2 separate regions of the Homo sapiens genome follow, and region 1 is linked to region 2. The links are contacts of gene promoters, found by promoter capture Hi-C in blood cells and fetal thymus (Javierre and others, 2016). All regions are on one chromosome and are shown on one strand. Each heading gives the region's core, a stretch centred on a gene start or on the middle of the fragment in contact. The rest is flanking DNA. Distances are from core to core; before and after follow the strand shown. Region 1 overlaps ABCD2 (ATP binding cassette subfamily D member 2). Region 2 holds the start of SLC2A13 (solute carrier family 2 member 13).

Region 1 (3,237 bases), core at 160-2,659, 510 kb before region 2:
ATTACCATGTTAGAATGTTACTGGCTCACTTGCTCTGGCTCATTACAAAGGAGATCATGCAACATATCTAACATAAGCAACAAAAGAAATGGTCAGATTGCTCCTCATTAGTAGCTATCAAAAAAGAAATATTAACTAGTTTTAATTTACTTTCTATAAGTAAAACCCAGAATCATCTCTATATGTTATGGAAAAGATAGCAAAATAAATCCATAGGTGTCACATGTGGATCATTTAACAAATAATCCTTATTTAAACAATTATAATAATTATAATAATTGTTTTTTCTTGGGAATCTACAATTCTTTCAAATGTATATATAGTTAAAATTCAATTATAATAGTAAAATTATTTGAGATAAAATTCATTCCCCATGATTATGGCTTTTTATAGTTTTGTTACTAATGTCTCAAGGTGCTTTTATACTTTGCATTATATTCCCACTTTTCTGCATTAACATCTAAGTAATCTGACAGTGATTTTTTTTTTTTGGTAAAATGTATTGATGTTTGTTAGAGTTACTTTTTTATTATTCTCTAAGACAAAGCTAGAAAGAATGGGAAAGCACTGAGAAGTGTTAGCTGTATCTATGTGCTTGGAGCTTCTGAATGACACAAAATTCTAAATATTTCCTAAATTGAGAGCAAAAAACCAATTCAAATCCAGAGGAGAAAAAAAAGTGTGACATGAAAGGCCTATATGCAGAGAAAACAAATTTTTAAAGTAATCATATAAAATTTAATTGGAACAATATTGATAAAAATTTTGCAGCAATGTTAACTGTATTTAAGGCATGAGATGTGTTAAGTTTAAGAATAATGTACCACTAAGTACTGCTGTGTTGTCGTAGCAAAAGAAGTTAACAATCTGAAAGGCATAAAATTTAACTATCAATAATTCACATAACTATACATGCTGGAACCAATCATTGCATCAGGGTTTTTCATGCATAGAAAGAACTAGATTTGAGTCATTTATAGTATTCTTAAAAAATGTGTGATAATAAGAAGAAATATTCAAGTGAAAATAGATATTTACTATTACTGAAATTATATCTTTTGGATAAGATATTTCTAGATTCCAAAACAGAGATGAGAATAGCCTCTTAAGAGCAGGGATGAGGTTTATTTCCAAGTAATAAAAATAATATTAGGCCAGGTGCAGTGGCTCGCATCTGTAATCCCCGTAATTTGGGAGGCCAAGCTGGGTGAATCACCTGAGGTCAGAAGTTTGAGACCAGCCTGCTCAACATGGTGAAACCCCATCTCTACTAAAAATGCAAAAATTAGCCAGGTGTGGTGGCACACACCTGTAATCCCAGCTACTTGGGAGGCTGAGGCACAAGAATCTCTTGAACCCTGGAGACAGAGGTTGCAGTGAGCCAAGATTGTGTCACTGAACTCCAGCCTGGGCAATAGAGTGAGACACTGTCTCAATAAGTAAATAAATAAATATATTATTAGTGGAAGAATTAAAGTATTGCTAAGCTGTTAAAAATGCAAATTTCTGTAAAAGTCAACTTTAAGAGTATTTATCATTATATCAGATTACCATTTAAATTGCTGATATTTGACCTATAAAAATTGCAGTTCCATATGGTTTAATGTAATAGTACTCATAAAATGAGAAAAACTTTTGAGTGAGAGGGGAGTTTTTTCATTATTACTTTTATAAATGAGCCCTTAGAAAAGTTAAAGATTTTAAAAAGTATCTTTAGCATTCTTCCAAGCCATAGAAAGCTATAGAAAATTGTGTTTACATTTATAGATCTCTTTAAAAGAGATTTAAAAAAACTGAACTGTACCAACTACTACACAGGAGGAACTAAAATGTACAACTTCTATTTCTGTCAACTGACTGCCCAAAGGTATTTATACAAAGATTACTTGGCTGTAAGTCTAACAGTCAGAAAGCAAGGAATAGAAGTCAATTTGCTACAGCAATGCTACTAAGCCTTCCTTGTGGTTAAAATAATTTTCTAAAAAAGGACATGTTAAATGACAGATATTTATCCCCATCATAAAGAGAATTTTGCAACATACCTACTGCAAGCAGCAAAATAAATAGATTGCTCATAATTAGTGTAAGGTACCAGATTGACTTGGCAGTAGAAACCAAATCTGTGGAGATGTTCATTCATTCAGTCAATCACTTATCAGATATTTATTGCACAATTACAATATATTTACTAGGATCCTACCAGTGCTGTACAGAGACATGTGGTTGCCTTTTCTAGCTTTTAATCTATAAAAGTTTGTTCAACAGTGACTCAACAAGGGCAAAGTCTGTTCCAGTACAACCCCTACTCCCAAAGCCATATTTCTTTGCTTTGAGGGCAGCAGGACAATAGATATGTAACCTACATACACATTGGCACAGTACATAGGTATAGAGTTCTGTGAGGAGCTCTGGATTAAGCCACATCACATTCCTCCTTTATTCCAGTGGCTTTTATAGACCCATATTCCACTCAGGCAGTGGCCTGCTAGTCTGCCTCTTTCTTAAATAAACACACTCCTTGTCCTCAAGAGGTGCACCCTGTTTGCCTTTTGGCAGCTAGATATTCATTAAGAATTGACAGGTCCAAAAGCTAGAGACCTATAGGAAAATTGAGATTAAGATATTTAAAACAGCATACCCCAGATTCTTGCTTAGATCCTTTTCCAGACCACATCCTCATTTTTAAAATCTGAGATCTTGGATAAAAAGAAAAAAAGCAAGGATCTCACTGAGAATACTTTAACAGCACCCTTTCTGTCCTCCATAGAGAAAAGAGGCAAATCAGTTCTTCTGACCTGATCTCATATGCTTTCTAGTTAATAGCCATCATCTGGTTTTATATGTGTGGGTTAAACAATGTTGATATATAACACAGAGTTCCCTGATCCCTACAAAGAAGAAATCTTAGATTTGGAAGTCATTCATATAGAAACAATAGAAAATGGAACTTCACAGCTTTTATTTTTTTGTTTTATTTTTATTTTTATTCTTTTGAGATAGCATCTCACTCTGTTGCCCAGGCCAGAGTGCAGTGGTGCAATCATGGCTCACTGCAGCCTCAACTTCCCAGACTCAAGCAGCCCTCCCACCTCAGCCTCTTAAGTAGCTGGGACTACAGGCAAGTACCACCATATCCAGCTACTTTTTTATTATTTGTATTGACGGGGTCCCCCTATGTTGCCAGGGCTAACCTTAAATTCCTGGCCTCAAGTGATTATCCAACCTCAGCCTCCTAAA
Region 2 (3,481 bases), core at 324-2,823:
TGAATATGACCTTTAATAGATAATTTGGTTCCCAACTGGAAAGCAGGAGAGGAAAAACAAAGAGGAGAATGGATAAAAAAGGATTCAAATGAAAAAGTTGGAAAAACAGAGGAGAATGGAATTTACTTGGGAAAAGAATGAAAGCTGAAAGGCAATAGAAAAAGCATAAAAGCAAAAGGAGATGCCATCTAAAGACAAATGCTAGATAAGCAAAGAGGGCAGGGGTCGCTAATAAACCTTTCAGAGTCCAGAATTACTTAACTCTAAATATTATCTCACTGTAACTTGACGATGGTCTAGGTTCCAGGCTGGGAGCCCCAGAAAACGAAAGGGGCTAGCAGTGGAGAGGCAAGGTGGGACAGTGCAGGAAAGCAGAGACCCTCGTAAGCTCAAGAAGCAGCATCAGGTTAGGCTGGATCAAGGAAAGAGCTGGTGCTCAGCTAGGTTTCTGGAAGTGCTGAGAGGCAACAACCACTTGGACTGACTGGTCCGTGGCCTATCAAAGATTCCACGTGCGCTCGAGGGAGACTAGAGTGACACCCCCTCCCCCCCGACCCTCCCACCTCCCGGGAGAGCCTTGGAGGCTGGACCAACAAACAGATGGGCTCTGGAGGCCAGAGAAGTGGAGGATTCTCTGACCCTGGGAGACCAGACGGGGACCCCGATGGGCAAGAGGCACGCAACACCCAGGGTCAAGGGCGGTGACAATGGGATCCCGGGCGCCCTTCACGGAGCCCGAACTCACCGATGCCGAGTCCCACGACCAGGCGGCCGGCGAGCAGTGTCTCCTTGTTGTTGGCCGCAGCCAGCACCGCGGAGCCGGCGGTGAAGAGGGCACTGGCCAGGAGGATGGCAGCGCGGCGGCCGAAGACGCCGTTGAGGGCGCCTCCGGCCAGCGCCGAGACGGCAGCCGCCCCCACCGTGCTGGACACCAGCAGCTCCTGCCACAGCGCGTCCAGACTGAGCTGCCGCTTGAGCAGCAGCATGGCCCCTGACACCACCCCGGTGTCATAGCCAAACAGGAAGCCGCCCAGCGCGGAGAAGACGGCCACCACGTACACGAAGGCGGGGGTCTCGTCCTGCTGGAACTGCCGCCGCGCCGCGCGCTCCAGGTCCCCGACGCCGCCGCCGCCCGCGCCCGCGCTCTGCAGGCTGGTGCTCGATTCGGCGGCAGCCAGGAGGCTGCACTCCCCGGCCGCGCTCGCCGCGTCCGGCTCCGGCTGCTTCCTGCGCCGCTCGCCCATCAGGCTGCTCAGGCTCCGCAGCGTGTACTCCACATTCTCGCTTGCCTTGCGGGACATAGGGCAGGGGCCCGGGGCTGCCCGGGGGGACGCGGCTCCGCGGGCCGGCAGTCTCGGCGAGCTAGACAGCCCGAGCCGGCGGGAGCAACCGCCGCTGCCGCCGCTTTCTTCCTCCCGGCTTCCGCTCCGGCTGCCACGGCAGCAGCCGCCGCCACGGCCGCTCCGGGGAGAAAGTTGCTGCCCGCCGCGCTCCGACGCTGCGGAGTTGGAGCCCGGCGGGTCTCACTCCACACTCACGCCCCGCGCCTGCCGAGCTGGCGCTGCGGAGCGGGCGGGAGGCGGGACCGCGGGTCACGTGCAACCCCGGGCCGGCGGGGCGGGGCCCGGGAAACGTCCCGCCCCCTCCTTGGGCGGGGCCAGGCTCAGCCCGCCCCGGACCCCTAAACCCCGCCCTCCCGGTGGGTGCGACCTCTGACCTAGGCTCCCTCATTTAGGGCTCTGGCAACCGTATGGAATTAACCCTGCCTTCCGAGCTGCAGCGGTGGAGCAAGCCAATGTGGCGATGCCATCAGGCAACAGGCTTCCAGACGGGAAGCCACCCAGAATGTTTGCCGTGTTTGGAGAGGAGGGAGAGAGCACCTAAACCAGCCTCACTGTCCTTCCAGCAGCCTAGAGAGAGGGCTGGAAAAAATATCCTAGAATAGGACCTAGCAAGTACCCTTCCTTTTATAGTATTGTGACATTACCCAGCGTGGTCTACTTCCCTGGCATTAAATGTGTTTGTTCTGGAGCAATTCAGGGCTGCATGCTCCCATTTCTATAGCTAGTTTCCACTCTCATCGCCAGTCCCTCCTCAATTTATGCTTATTTTAAAGGAATGGTACATTTGATTCTTTGAGGACAGAGAACATATCTCTGTGGTGAATCCCAAACCCTCCTTCCATGGATCCCCGACCTGTAAAAGAAAATTCACATATATGCATTCCACTCATGTAACGGGTAATTCCCAGAAATAGAAAGAAAACTCAAGACCCTGATTTGTGATTCGGCAGGCAGTCTCCATTTCCCCGCCCCAACATGCTAACCAAAAGGTAGGATAGCTTCTCTCCTGAGAATCCCCACTGTTGCCCTCCATGAGGCACTGTTTTAACAGCCTCATTTACTTGAAACAAAGCAAAGATAACGTTATTTGCAACCAATTTTTTAAACTGTTGAGTGAATTAACAGTTGTTGGTTCATTTGGGGTTTGTTTCCCCCTTTAATTTAAATGTTTTTAAAATATACAGTTGCGCATCAGGGGCTAAAGATAGTTTGTTTTGTTTTGTTTTGTTTTTGAGACAGATTCTCGCTCTGTCGCCCAGGCTGGAGTGCAGTGGCGCTATCTCGGCACACTGCAGCCTCCGCCTCCCAGGTTCAAGCGATTCTCCTGCCTCAGCCTTCCTAGCAGCTGGGACTGCTAAAGATGTTTTGTGCCTCTAATTTGCTTTCATTCTTCAGGCTGAGGGCAAAAAGTCAAGCATCATATGATTCTATTCCTACAATTCCACTGCTCTTTTATTTCCCTTATTTGAGCAAAAGCTTTCTTAGCCTGGGGCCTATTTTTCATGCAGCTATAACTTTTTTCCTTTCAGACAAAAGGATTTTGTCATTCCTGTTTCAGTAAAAACTTATATTAGAATTTGTCAAAACTGCTTTCGTTTTGATTATCAGTCACGATTATCTCTACAATATAGTACTTTCCTTGCCAGCAACAAGGAAAAATAAACTAATGAAGCCAGACGGCTTAACTATTTAAATGTTATCGTCTGGCTTTAAAGCAAGGCTCTACCGTCATTCCCAGGCATCAGTTAAACAGAGAGAGCCTTTAGATCTGCAGCAATGAACTCTTTAATATTCAGACCTCGGACAATATTGCAGGTGAGAGCGCGCCTTTTCCGCGGCATGCTACGGTATAGTAAAACTGCGCCCCCTGGTGGTGAGCCAATTCCCACGGCTTCTGAAGAGAAGGGCTCCGCAGATGAGAAGCATCTGGTTCTTTGACAGTTCCCTCTTGCTGAGATGAAAATAAACTACTTTTTGTCTCAGCTGGTGCAGTGAACATCTTGGTTCCTGAGCATTCCTTGCTTGAAATTCAGCTTTGGGGTCATAGAACAAGAAACTACTTTAAAAATTCTGTTCCGTATTAGGACAGTTATGTATCTGCGGTCAGGTTACATTTTAAAAGAAATGTGACGTGAAAA

The links. Contacts are between HindIII fragments. The CHiCAGO score rates a contact against its expected background, and 5 or more counts as called.
Region 1: a fragment that was not itself captured here is called in contact with the fragment with the promoter of SLC2A13 in region 2 in 8 of 17 cell types (total CD8 T cells, naive CD4 T cells, total CD4 T cells and 5 more); the score reaches 12.2 in total CD8 T cells.

What each region holds. Positions count from the first base shown.
Region 1 is chr12:39,590,278-39,593,514 of GRCh38, forward strand. The region is part of intron 6 of ABCD2 (ATP binding cassette subfamily D member 2); the gene reads right to left. Among named protein-coding and RNA genes, the nearest start is that of ABCD2, 28 kb to the right of the region's middle. The HindIII fragment of the contact is 3,787 bases long and covers 1-3,237 here.
Region 2 is chr12:40,104,508-40,107,988 of GRCh38, forward strand. SLC2A13 (solute carrier family 2 member 13) reads right to left here and starts at 1,574. Exons shown (of 10, transcript NM_052885.4): 1 at 746-1,574. The coding sequence starts at 1,301. RefSeq lists silencers at 1,008-1,097, 1,108-1,177, 1,198-1,457, 1,478-1,727, 3,109-3,238 and an enhancer at 2,728-2,897. The HindIII fragment of the contact is 3,714 bases long and covers 1-2,817 here.